Regions from separate parts of the Homo sapiens genome. Here region 1 is linked to region 2. The links are contacts of gene promoters, found by promoter capture Hi-C in blood cells and fetal thymus (Javierre and others, 2016). All regions are on one chromosome and are shown on one strand. Each heading gives the region's core, a stretch centred on a gene start or on the middle of the fragment in contact. The rest is flanking DNA. Distances are from core to core; before and after follow the strand shown.

What was found. Contacts are between HindIII fragments. The CHiCAGO score rates a contact against its expected background, and 5 or more counts as called.
Region 1: the fragment with the promoter of TOMM34 here is called in contact with the fragment with the promoter of UBE2C in region 2 in 1 of 17 cell types (erythroblasts); the score reaches 7.7 in erythroblasts.

The regions. Positions count from the first base shown.
Region 1 is chr20:44,959,147-44,965,453 of GRCh38, forward strand. TOMM34 (translocase of outer mitochondrial membrane 34) reads right to left here and starts at 1,251. Exons shown (of 7, transcript NM_006809.5): 1 at 1,061-1,251. The coding sequence starts at 1,187. LOC124904912 (a long non-coding RNA gene) reads left to right here. Exons shown (of 2, transcript XR_007067599.1): 2 at 1-391. STK4-DT (STK4 divergent transcript) reads right to left here. Exons shown (of 3, transcript NR_038341.1): 3 at 4,648-6,302. RefSeq lists enhancers at 180-269, 1,050-1,099, 1,110-1,199 and a silencer at 1,430-1,509. The HindIII fragment of the contact is 1,710 bases long and covers 311-2,020 here.
Region 2 is chr20:45,809,559-45,816,425 of GRCh38, forward strand. UBE2C (ubiquitin conjugating enzyme E2 C) reads left to right here and starts at 3,086. Exons shown (of 6, transcript NM_007019.4): 1 at 3,086-3,238; 2 at 3,879-3,906; 3 at 4,826-4,912; 4 at 5,983-6,187; 5 at 6,296-6,355. The coding sequence starts at 3,138. DNTTIP1 (deoxynucleotidyltransferase terminal interacting protein 1) reads left to right here. Exons shown (of 13, transcript NM_052951.3): 12 at 1,327-1,382; 13 at 1,499-1,860. The coding sequence ends at 1,637. RefSeq lists an enhancer at 692-861 and a silencer at 2,889-3,078. The HindIII fragment of the contact is 3,801 bases long and covers 368-4,168 here.

The DNA of each region.
Region 1 (6,307 bases), core at 1-2,500, 850 kb before region 2:
GATCGTGTCTAAAATGTCTAGCACATGGTAAATCACTCAAGAGATGCTAGCCAAGAAAAGGAAAAAAAGGAAGGCGGCAAAGGGAAATAGGTACTGAACGGTGACTCACAGAAACCAGGATCCAAGGCTCCTTTCAAAAGTCAAGGCTTTAACCAATGAGGGTTTCTGATTAAGTCACCCTGGAGAAGGGGCTTTGGGCAAAGGTCTGCGGTATGCTGACGAAAGCTGGACGCTGGGAGAACTGGTAAGAATATGCTATTCTTCTGTTTCAAACTCTCCAGTAGCTTCCCATCCAGCAGCTTTCATGCCAAGCTTCCAGTTTGGCATGAAATCCGAACTCCTTAGCAGAGTTTACAACACCTCCACAATAAATAAGGGTCTGCCTTCCTAACTGACCTCATGTCTTCCTATTCCCTGCCCTGGCTCACTATGCTTTGACCCCTGAAACACACCATGTTTATATCGTCTTGGAGGGGGGGCCTTTCTCATTGCAGTTCACTTCAGGACCGAAAACCTTGTGCGCTTGGCTTCTCATCATTTAGACATCACCTCAAATATCACTTCTTTACAGATGTTGCCCTTGATCTCCCACTCCAGTCAACTCTATCACATCACCCTATTTGTCTTCTTCCTAACCCTGATTATCCCACAGGTCTCGTTTACTTACTGACTCGCTTAAGACTCACGTCCTCCCCACCGCCCCCACAAGAATGCGCTGTCCTTGAGAGAAGGGACTTTTTGTGTCTTGTTACACAGGCGGTATATAACAGCTACTCAACAAATACTAACTGAAAAATGAATTGCTGCGGGGGAGGAGGGTTTAGCTTTCTTCTCAGGGCTCAGAACGAGGCCTAAATAACTTAGGATGGGGGCCAACAGGGCAGTTAACAAGCAGGTGGAAAGAAAGGGCCGAGGAAGTTTCTGGTAGGATGCCGGAGTCGGAAGGGGCTGGAAGGGTGGGAGGGCCGGGCAGGACTGCTGGCCGCCGCGCGAGGCCCGGGCGGTGGTTGCGGGAGTTGGAGGAGCAGGCCCGGAGGTGAGATGGGGGCCGGGGTCGTACCTTGCGCCTGCAGCACCCGCAGCGCGCGGCCGTAGAGCGCGGAGGCCTCGGCGTACTGGCCGTTGCGGAAACTCTCATTGCCGGCGGCGCGGAGCTCCTCCACAGAGTCTGGGAATTTGGGGGCCATCCCGTGGCCAGGCCGGCGAGTTGGGAGCTCCTTCCTTCCTCCCCCGTGTGGTGCGGCACACCTTCCGGGCGCAAGCGCCGGCGGCGAATATCTCCGCCCAACAGCGAACCCGCGGCGAGGGGGCGGGGCCTGCGAGACCTGGAGGCCCGGAGCGTCCCGCCCTCTGCGCGTGCTCGGTTTGGAACTTAGGCTCCCTTGCACGCGGGGCGGCAGCATGCTCTGGGCTCCCTGAGTTGCTAGAACGCCGTGGATGACGCAGGGAAGGAGGCTGGCCCCGCTATCAGGGAGATTATGTCCTAGTGGGGTCCCCACAGGCAATTAACTGATAAGCAAACGAAGACTCTCATTTCATGTGATTAGTGCTGTAAGGAAAACAAAACAGGATAATGCAATGGAAAGTGACCACGTGTGGGCTATTTTAAATAAGGGGATGAAGGAAGGCCTTTCTCAGGGGGTAATAGTTGAGCTGAGACCAGACAAGATTTAGGGAATGCTGTTCCAGCCAGAGGGATGGTAAGTGCAAAGGTTCCAAGGCTAGAAAGTACCTGGTACCTAGTGCTCTATAGATATTTATTTAATAAATTAATGCACAGGTGGATTGATGGTGTCAAAGTCAACATATAGAGATGAATCTCTAAAGTTTAAATATTTTATTTGGCAATCAAGAATTGCAATTCAGGGCTTACACACAGACCAGGTTGTCTTTGGTATGTCAGAAGAACAAAGAGAAGGTTTGGAGATTTTTATAAAACAGAAATGTTACATATTGCTCTTCAAGGAAGTTTACAGGCACTAGTAAAGTGGGGGTTTATCAGCTTCTTGGGGAGCTGGCAAGCTTTGATTGGTAAGTGATAGTGGTGGATAAAACTCAGAATTGTAGCAGGCTGTTTCAGTAGCTATTAGATAAAACTGGTTTTAGGTTACAGCAGGCAGTTTTAGCAGCCAGGCTTGCAAAAAATTACTTTTTTGGAGCAATGTTATATGCCCTGAGTATTTGTTCCCCTGGCTTTTCAATTCTGTCTTAGTTGGATATGACAAGAATGACCCAATTCGTATGATCAGCTTTCAGAATGGATGAAGATCTTTCACAGAGTGTGACTTCAATTTATCTCCAGCCTCATCTGACGACTCTATGTCCCACGCATTGCTATCTACACACACTAAATTCTTGCTTCCTAGCCTTTGCTTGTTATCTCCTTCTCCTGGATTTTTTTTTCTAAATACTTTTTCTCCTGCCTAATCCTGAATTAACTTATAACATTCCATTCAAACATCATCTTCTCTGAAAGCCTTTCCTGCTTCCAGCCCCCTCCCCACCCCCCACTATGCTCCCTTTGCTCCCTATTGGTCTCTAGCTTTATCCCTAACTTTGCATTAGTCACCCTTTGATTGCCAGTTTGTAGTTTTCCTTAAACACTGCGAGGTCTTTAATGGCAGGAAGTGGGTCCTTTTTATCTTTGTTTATCCAAGACCCTAATAGGGTCTGGCATCCAATAAAAGTCATTGATTGATAAAGATCTAGTCTCTACCTTCAGGAATTCAGTTATAATGATCTGCATACACTTAACTCCACCAGACTATAAGCTTTCTGAGGGCTGGATGGCTGTTCCATCTGAAATGCTTCCCCTTGCCCTCTGCCCCGACCAAGGATGAACACTGACTGTGGTGGGAAAACCAGATGAGGCCCATGCTGCTGGCTGGCTACTCAGTGACTTCCATCTTTGCTTCCAGGAGCCTGAATTTTGCCTGAGACTCTCCCAGCCTGGGGAAGTGAATCAGGATTGCTCTAAGCCAATTAGAAAAATGTCATTTTCTCTTGCCAGTGATTCATCAAGGGATGCACATGTGATGCTGATCTGGGCAATGAGATAAAAGGGAGTCTGAGGCTGGTCGCAGTGGCTCACATCTGTAGTCCTAGCACTTTGGGAGGCCGAGGCGGGTGGATCACAAGGCAGGAAATCGAGACCATCCTGGCTAACACAGTGAAACCCCATCTCTACTAATAATACAAAAAATTAGCTGGGGTGGTGGCACGCACCTGTAGTCCCAGCTACTCAGGAGGCTGAGGCAGGAGAATAGCTTGAACCCGGGAGGTGGAGGTTGCAGTGAGCTGAGATTGCACTGCTGCACTCCAGCCTGGGCGACAGAGCAACACTCCGTCTCAAAAAAAAAAAAAAAAAAAAAAAAGAGTCTGCTGAGTGTTTATGGGAAAGGTTTCCCTCCCCATAACAGAGAGGTACTGGGTCAAGTAGCCATTCTTGCTCTTTTTCTGCTTTGGGTAGTGCTGGGTTAAGGATATGATACCTGGAGGTGTGGCAGTCATTTTGCAACCATGAGGCAATAAACACAAGTATGAAAAGCCAACATGCTGAGTAGGATGGGAGGGGAAAAAATGAAATAGATATTGCTGAGTCATTGAATCAACTGCTGACTTATTAGCTTATTAATAAACAATAAAGGCAAGGTGTGGTGGCTCACAGCTGTAATCCCAGCTCTTTGGGAGGCCGAGGTGGACGGATCACTTGAAGTCAGGAGTTTGAGACCAACCTGGCCAACATGGTGAAACCCCATCTCTACTAAAAATACAAACAGTAGCTGGGCGTGGTGGCATGCGCCTGTAATCCCAGCTACTCAGGAGGCTGAGGCAGGAGAATTGCTTGAATCCAGTGAGCCCAGATCACTGGGCTGCTGTGGTCCATCCTGGGCAATACGGCGAGACTCTGTCTCAAAACAAACAGTAAATGCCATGGTGCTTTAAGCCAACATTTAGATGTTTTCACTTGCTTGCAGCTGAATATTTCCTGAGTGGTTTATCGGATAAGTGTAGCTGTGGCAAATTTTATTTTCCAAAAATGGCCCCAATAATATTTCTGGTTCCCCAAGCTCTTCCAGACCCTTGCCACTGCCCTATGAGGAGGTGGAGTCTGCATCCCTTCTCCTTGAAACTGGGTGGGCCTTTGTGGCCCCCCTCCACAGTGGTAATGACATTAAGTATCTTCCACTAAAAGGCACTGCAGCATCCCACTTGGCTCTCCCTCGGGAACATGCTTTAGAACCCAGGCTTTATTTTGTGAGGAAGCTCAAGAAAAATGGAGACGCCCCTAGCCTTCAGACCCAAGTGAGCTTCCAGCCAACAGCTAGCACCAACCTGTCAGCTGTGTGAAATGCCTTTTGGACAGGGCTGATTGATCCTGATTGACACCATAAACAGAGATGAGCCTTCCTGCTGAGCCATGCTCAAATTGTAGATTTCTGAGAAGAAAAAAAGACTGTTGTTCTATGCCTATAAACTTTGGGGTGGTTTCTTACACAGCAGTCAATACCTGGAAATCCCTTCCTGCAGTGCTTCCTATAAATGCCAGGACTGATAAAAACAGTACTGAAATAATTTGAAGGAGGGACAGATGAGAGGGTCAGGGGAGGGACAAGGGAACAGAGAAGTCTTCTGGGAAGAGGTGTCTTTTTTTGTAAAATAGCTTTATTGAGATATAACTCACATATTGAAAGTGTACAATTCAATGCCTTTTAGTATATTCAGAGTTGTATAACCATTACTACAACCAATTTTAGAACATTTTCATCACCCCAAAATGAAATCTCACACCTTTTAATCATCCCCTCCAATTCACCTATGCTCCCTTCCACCAGGGCCTTAGACAACCACAAATCCACCACAGGATTTGCCTATTCTGAACATCTCCAAACCTGCCAAAGCTATGCCATTAAAAGGCACTACAGCAAAGAGCATCATGCAACTTGCATCACACTGGGGGCCTGGCACAGAAGTGGCGGTGGTGGCACCAGGCAGGGCCTGATCCACGGGGTCCAGGGTGACCATGTGGGTCATGCAAATGGCATTACACAAATATGCCATGCTTGGCTAAGTTTTTTGTAGAAAAGGGGTTTCACCATATTGCCCAGGCTGGTCTCGAACTCCTGTTCTGCCTTGGCCTCCAAAAGTGCTGGGATTACAGGTGCAAGCCATCATACCCAGTCCCTTGAATACTGTTATGCAATTGTTCCCCATTTTCTGCCAGGTGTTGGTTTGAGGATCTATTAGGATACTAAAATGTGAGTATACTCATGTACTATAGTTGACCCTGCAGAACCTATGGAAACGAAAAGTCAGCCCACCCTATACACAGGTTTCACATCCCATACTGTATTTTCCAACCATGTTTCATTGTGGATGTGGAACCCTCTGATAGAGAGGGCTGACTGTATTTATTGAAAACAAAACAAAACAAAACAAGGGTTGTATTGGTGGACCCATGCAGCTCAAACCCTTGTTGTTCCCAGGTCAACTGTATATCCAGAGCTTATAGGAAAATACCTCTCCCAGTAACCCTGCTCACCATTTCTCTCTTAAGCTATTATTATGATTAGCCACGGTTTGCTATTTAAATTTAAATTTAAATAAAAATGTGGCCTTTCAGTTATGCTAGCCACATTTAAAGTGCTCAATAGCCATATGTGGCTAATGGTTACTATTTCGGACAGCACATATTTAGAACATTCCCATCATTTCAGAAATTTTCATTGGGAACACTCTGCGGAAAAAGGGGGCCATCATAATGTGAGTCCATCTTCTGGAAAAATCCTGGGAAGGGGACAAAGGAGGTCTGTTTGGCATTGTGTAATGGTAATTTGGTATTTAATTTTCAAAAATGTTTACCCAATTCCTATTCATCAGCCAGGTGTGGTGGCTCTTGCCTGTAATCCCAGCACTCTGGGAGGCCGAGGTGGGAGGACTGCTGCAGCCCAGGAGTTTGAGACCAGCCTGGGTAATAATAGGGAGATCCTGTTTCTACAAAACACCAAAAACAAAACAACAACTTTGATGTTGTGGAGTCAGGACAGTCCTGGGTTAAAACCTTTGCTCTCCTTAGCTGTGTAAACCGTGGGTCTCAGCTTTCTTATCTGTTAACGGTAGGTACTTCTTCCTAGGGCTGTTTTGAGGATTAAGTGAAAGTCCAAGATTGTGTCTGGCACACAGTAGCTTCTCAGCAAATGTTTTCCTCCTATGTCAGGGAATGGCTCCTTTATCCCGTTTTGGGCCCATGGGTGGCCCTGAAGGGTGGGTGCTCAGGTGTTAAGTTCTGTAGATGGCATATCCTTGG
Region 2 (6,867 bases), core at 1,836-4,335:
TTTTCTCAACACAGTACTTGAGGCAGCAACCCTTGTCAGTAGGAGTTAGCAATGAAATGTGTTTGCACACTTGGCAGCCCCTTCCAGATTTACCTCTACTTGAAGAGTTCTCAGATCATATGAAACAGCAACCTTAGGAAAATCATCATTGCATGTGTTCAAAAACTATTGTTGAGGGCTTTGTCCATCACACACAATGTCCCCCACCTGAGGACTCACTCACTCCCACCACAGGTACTGCTCCTTTTAGAATCTAAGTGCCTTACAAACTGATATGCCATCTCCTTTCTGGCAGTGAGAGCTACCTTTTATTTTATTTTACTACTCTATTTATGCCTATGCTTTACTTCAAAAAAGATTTCAGGTAAGCTTCATGCACATAAAATGCAACATTACATAAATAAGAAATAGATGGTAGGGGGTGGGGGCAGGACCTAAAATTAAGCCACCAGTAAAAGTAGTTCTTTAAAAAAAAAAAGTGTTTTTTATATTGCTGACCTGGGAGACCTGTGCACTTCTACAGATGTTGGCAAATTCAGCTGTAGGCCCCACTCATGGACACCTGATCTGTTATGGTTCATAGTGCCCATAAGATGTAGACAAATTACTCAAGGAATACACAATTATTCCTGACCCTAACATTAGAAAGTCTCCCACAGAAGACTTTCTAATATGATGAATATCTCTTCCTATATGTTAAGTTCACAAAAGGGCCCTCACCCACTGTAGACCGAGGCATTGTGACAAAGCATTTCTACAGGCCCCAGTACAATACAGGCCAATTACTAGACAGCAGAGCAGTTTATCATGTTTTCCATTTTGCCACAAAGTTCAAAACCAAGTTATCTTTGTCCTCAGAGGGAGCACATGGTTTCCTCTTCCTGATTTCCTGTTTCCATATATATTTTGCTGGCTTTCTTGCCATTTTGTTATAACCCACCTTGGGTCCTTTCGTATACTTGATCTTAACCAAAAGGTGTAGGAGCAATGGTGGATCCCTTTTTTTTTCTTTTTTTCTTTTTTTTTTTTTTTTCTTAATTTTCACCACACCATTCAAGAGAGAAATGGGTCCTTTTTTAAAAGAGAAGGCTATAAATAAGTCACCAGTCCCTACTCTCCCATCCATGAAGCATCTACTGTAGTAAAAGATTGTCTCAAGGAACCATTCCCATCCCTCCCCACTTACTCTTCCGTACTAAATTGTAAACCGCATCCCCCGCTTCCACCTAGTAGCAGGCCTTACATTAAACAGATGTTTAATGAAGTGTTACTGAGTTGGAGTGAAATGAATCAGGCAATGACCACTCTCCCTTGCTCCTGCCTCAGGCCTACCTCCTCATCGAGGAGGACATCCGGGACCTTGCGGCCAGTGATGATTACAGGTAAAACCAGTGGGTCTCCTGCCCCTTCTCCTCTCCCTGCCTCCAAATAGCCCCTAGAATGAGGCAGGGCCTACATCCTCACTTCCCCCAACTTCTCTCTTCAATGTCTGTTCCAGAGGATGCCTGGATCTGAAGCTAGAGGAATTGAAATCCTTTGTCCTACCCTCCTGGATGGTGGAGAAGATGAGAAAGTATATGGAGACACTACGGACAGAGAATGAGCATCGTGCTGTTGAAGCACCTCCACAGACCTGAGGCCGGGTCCCCTGGCCACACTTGGCAGCCCTCCTCCAAAGCCCTCTTCCTCACGTGGCTGAGGCCACCGCTGGGACTGCTCCTAGATGGATCTCAGCGGCATTAAGCTGTGCCTGAGCGAGTTTGTAGTGACTCACTGCACAGCACCCCCAGACTAGCATGTGGTTCTATATTTGTAAAGTTATTGGGATAAGAAACAATTAAACAGTTTGTAGTAAACACAGATGGTGAACCTGCTGTGCCCTCTACCTTGTGGGAATTGACAGAACATCAAGGGCTCTAGAAGTGGGTGTAGGAAAAAAGGACGAGATAACCCTCACCCATAACAGTATAGAGCCAGGCTTGATAAGACCAACCTGGGAGCACCATGTACCCTGCCCGTCTTCCCTTTGCCCATTTGTAGTTTCCTTACCCAGCTAATGTAAGGACATGGCAGAATGCGATGGAGTTTGATGACAGATCATATGAAAAATAGAGTTGGCTTTTATTGCTCCCATTTTACAGGTTAAGATACTAAAGGACCCGCCCCAAGGTTACACACTACCCACTGGGGAGGTAGGATATACAGGATATGAACCTGTGTTGTTGGGGTTTTTGTTTGTTTGAAGACAGTCTTGCTCTGTTGCCCAGGCTAGAGTGCAGCCTCTGGCTCAAGCGATTCTCCCGCCTCAGCCTCGCCAGTAGCTGGGACTACAGGCTCGTGCCACCTCACCAGCCTTTTTTTTTTTTCTTTTCTTTTTTTTTTTTTTTCTTTTAAGTAGAGACAGGTCTCCCTATCCTGTTGCTCAGGCTGGTCTCGAACTCCTGGGTTCAAGTGATCCTCCTGCCTGGGCCTTCCAAAGTGTTCGGGATTACGGACGTGAGCCACTGCGACCAGCCTGAACCAATGTTGCCTTTTTTTATTTCTGTCATCTCTGCGGAGATGTATGGACCTATGTTTTCTAATAGGGAGCCTGCTGCTCTGGCCATCAGCCTTTAGTTTTTCCCCTCGCTGGGATTTTCAGATACTTAGGACGCAGCAAAGGTGCCCAGGCGATTATAATGGTGGGAGGGTACCAGTGCTGCAGGATTGGAGGCACTCCCTGCCCGAGGGAAATTGGATCAAGGCTGGGCGTGCCGAGTGTTCCCACGCGGAGTAAGACGTGTAGCCAGAAGGAGGGGTTCATCCCACGTGGACGTTTTCTTGGCCCTTTAATGGTTAGCGTTTTCCAACGGCCACCAATTCGCTACGGATTCGTTAGTTAATGGCAGCATCATCTACCAATCGGTTGTCAGAAGCGGGATTCTGCCGCCCAATAGCGGTGCGCCAGTGGGTAGGTCTAGCAGTGGCGCAGCAATAGAGCGCTCCGGAGCGTCTCATTGGCTGGATCAAACCCAAGCGAGCCATTGATTGGTCGACGCCCCCAGAGGGTTACAATTCAAACGCGGGCGGGCGGGCCCGCAGTCCTGCAGTTGCAGTCGTGTTCTCCGAGTTCCTGTCTCTCTGCCAACGCCGCCCGGATGGCTTCCCAAAACCGCGACCCAGCCGCCACTAGCGTCGCCGCCGCCCGTAAAGGAGCTGAGCCGAGCGGGGGCGCCGCCCGGGGTCCGGTGGGCAAAAGGTGAGTGATGCGGCCTACCACTCGCCGGGCCTGCCATGCCCTAGGCATTGGTACCCAGAGCAAAGATTTCTAGGACCACCCCCCGCCGCCACCTCCTGGAGCGGGAGATCTGCGGGTGCAGGAGAACACACCAGGAGCTCGGGGCCTGGCATTCCCCTGGGCATGGGTGTCGAGGGCGGAGACTTCCGGGACTCCCACCTCCTTGCGCGGGTGAGATTCGAGAGATGGGGGACAGGCCAGGAGCTCAGACCGCTCTTTGAGACTCTCCCGAAGGAGAATGGGAGGGTAGGGGCGCTGCCAGACTCCTTCCCTGGTGGGCCTAGATGAAGACGCTCAAGGACCCTCGTGACTTGGCCGAGACAGGGGAAGGGAGAAGTTGAGTCGGGCAAGGAAGAGATGCTAAAGCCTGGGGAATTAAGAACATGCCAGAATCATCCCGAGGGAGTCTGGAATTAGGGAGGGTGAGGACTCGCTAGGATCGTCCTGTGGATCTGGTGAGTATACCCTGAGCTGAGCCTGACCTTGGTGATGTGGGGAGCCTCCATGACGGCTCCCCCTGAGATTCAGGTGGGAGAAGATGCACCGTCTGGAGGCCTGGCCCATCCAGACTCCCAGGTAACCCCGAATACTCTTTTTTCAGGCTACAGCAGGAGCTGATGACCCTCATGGTGAGTGATTAAGTGCCCAGAACCCCAGCCTTCCATCCAATTTTCAGTAGCCTCCTTTTTTCCGTCAGCTTTTTTGCTAGACATAGGGGTAATGTAATTTGCTCCCTCCTGGGAAAGAAGTTCATACACCCCACCTACACCATTTCTTCCAGCAGTCCCTCCTCCCAATTCCATCCCCCCACACGAAGTTATCTCGAACACTTCCCTGAAGTCATACAAGACCCTCCCTATCCAGTGTGTCCCTACTTCCTAGCCCCAACCAAGCTTTACCCACACCCAACTCCCCGCCCTTCTTGGTATTTCTAGCCTATGAATTTGGTTGCTTTATTTTGGATCAGAGTGATGAGATTAAGGGGAGGCTGGGCGCGGTAGCTCACACCTTATAATCCCAACACTTTGGGGGGCTAAGGTGGGCGGATCACTTGAGGTCAGGAGTTCGAGACCAGCCTGGCCAACATTGCAAAACCCTGTCTCTACTAAAAATACAAAAATTATCCAGGCATGGTGGTGCATGCCTGTAATTTCAGCTACTCGGGAGGCTGAGGCACAAGAATCATTTGAACCGTGGAGACAGAGGTTGCGGTGAGCCGAGCGCACCACTGCACTCTAGCCTGGGCGACAGAGTGTGTGTGTGTGTCTGTCTCTGTCTATCTCTCTCTCTCAATCTCTCTCTCTCTCTCTCTATATATATATATATGTAAATATATATTTTTTAGTAGAGATGGCATAACCCCATCTATATCTCATATATATACACATATATATGTGTGTGTGTATACATATATATGTGTGTGTGTGTATGTGAGCATATATATATATATATATATATATATATAAAATTAAGGGGAAAGCTCACCCACTGACCTTTGCTATGCCCAAAAGTGTACTCCACATTCCAACAAATGTGTTTTCTCCCCAGATGTCTGGCGATAAAGGGATTTCTGCCTTCCCTGAATCAGACAACCTTTTCAAATGGGTAGGGACCATCCATGGAGCAGCTGGAACAGTAAGTGTAGGGCTGGGATGGGTGAGTGAGTCTGGGGAAAGGTGGGAAGTGAGATCCAAGTGCGAGCTCTGCTTCAAGCCTTTGGCGGAGCAAGACACTCCTCCTGTGACTGTTTACATTCTCTGAGCCATGTGGCCTTGTTCTTTCCCTCTGTGCAATAAAGGGTGGGTTTAAAGCAGGGCTGCCTATCTTAGATGTTTACATGGGGGGACAGACAGCAAGGAAATGGATGAAGTGAGGACTTTGGCCAATAGGGCCAGATCTCAAGAAGGCAGCTTCCCATTGCTGCAGATCAGGTTTAAGATGAGTCAGAAGTCCAAATCTGTGCCAAATCTAATTTTTACGTATTAGCAACTAATATTCTTTTTTTTTTTTTTTTGAGACGGAGTCTCGCTCTGTCGCCCAGGCCAGACTGCGGACTGCAGTGGCGCAATCTCGGCTCACTGCAAGCTCCGCTTCCCGGGTTCACGCCATTCTCCTGCCTCAGCCTCCGAGTAGCTGGGACTACAGGCGCCCGCCACCACGCCCGGCTAATTTTTTGTATTTTTAGTAGAGACGGGGTTTCACCTTGTTAGCCAGGATGGTCTCGATCTCCTGACCTCAAGATCCACCCGCCTCGGCCTCCCAAAGTGCTGGGATTACAGGCGTGAGCCACCACGCCCGGCCAGCAACTAATATTCTAATTGAACTAAAGCACAGGATGCCAATTTACAATCCTTAGACCAAAGAGTCACTGATGTCTCCACCAGATAAGAGGAAAGCATCAGGCTAGGCATAGTGGCTCACACCTGTAATCTCAGCACTTTGGGAGGCTGAGGCAGGCAGATCACATGAGCCCAGGAGTTTGAGACTGGCCTGGGCAACATGGTGAAACCCTGTCTCTAAAATAAAAACTAAACTAAAAAAACTTTTTAAAAAGGCAGTGGGGAGCATCAGAACCAGCTCAACAGTTTGTCTACTGTCCGGTCCCAGAGAAACTCAAGATTCTAGCAAGCCCCTTGTGTGGGGCTTGGGTTGGGACATGAGGCTGCTGCTGGAGCTTACTCTGCAACTGTTTCTCCAAATGCCAGGTATATGAAGACCTGAGGTATAAGCTCTCGCTAGAGTTCCCCAGTGGCTACCCTTACAATGCGCCCACAGTGAAGTTCCTCACGCCCTGCTATCACCCCAACGTGGACACCCAGGGTAACATATGCCTGGACATCCTGAAGGAAAAGTGGTCTGCCCTGTATGATGTCAGGACCATTCTGCTCTCCATCCAGAGCCTTCTAGGAGGTGACTTTAGAGACCACCCCTCCCCTCCATGCAACTTGGGAACCTGTCAGGACTCCCTGGGGTCAGCCTCTTCTACCGCCTTGACCTTCTCTTTCTCTCCACCCACAGAACCCAACATTGATAGTCCCTTGAACACACATGCTGCCGAGCTCTGGAAAAACCCCACAGGTGAGTCCTCAGTCCTTGAGCCCAGGGTGATCCCTCCCCCAACCTTCAAAGGCTCCCTCAAACAAAAGGAGCCCAGTGACTTGGGACCGGGTTGGTTGGGGCAGGGTGGAGTGTCGGCAGCAACCCACTTCTGTTTCTGCCCCAGTGCTCCTATTTGCTATAAAATAGCAATTGTTTTATAGCAGAATAAAAATGTTTGGCGATAAATAATTTTGGGAAATTATTGGTGAGACCAAGGCAGGAGGATAGCTTGAGGCCAGGAATTCAGTAGAGTGCCTTGCCTGTGCCCTCCAGTCTCACTGGAAGCAAGCCCTTCCAGGAGAGCTGCCTAGATGGGCAGTGCAGGGAGAATGCCGGGCTGGGAAACCAGCCCCTCCTCCACCTCCTCCGACCTTTGCATCCCTGGTCCAGCTGCCTCTTGCCCACCTTAATTCATCCTGGGCCAGGCACAGTGGCTCATGCCTGTAATCCTAGCACTTGGGGAGGCCGAGGTGGGTGGATCACATGAGGTC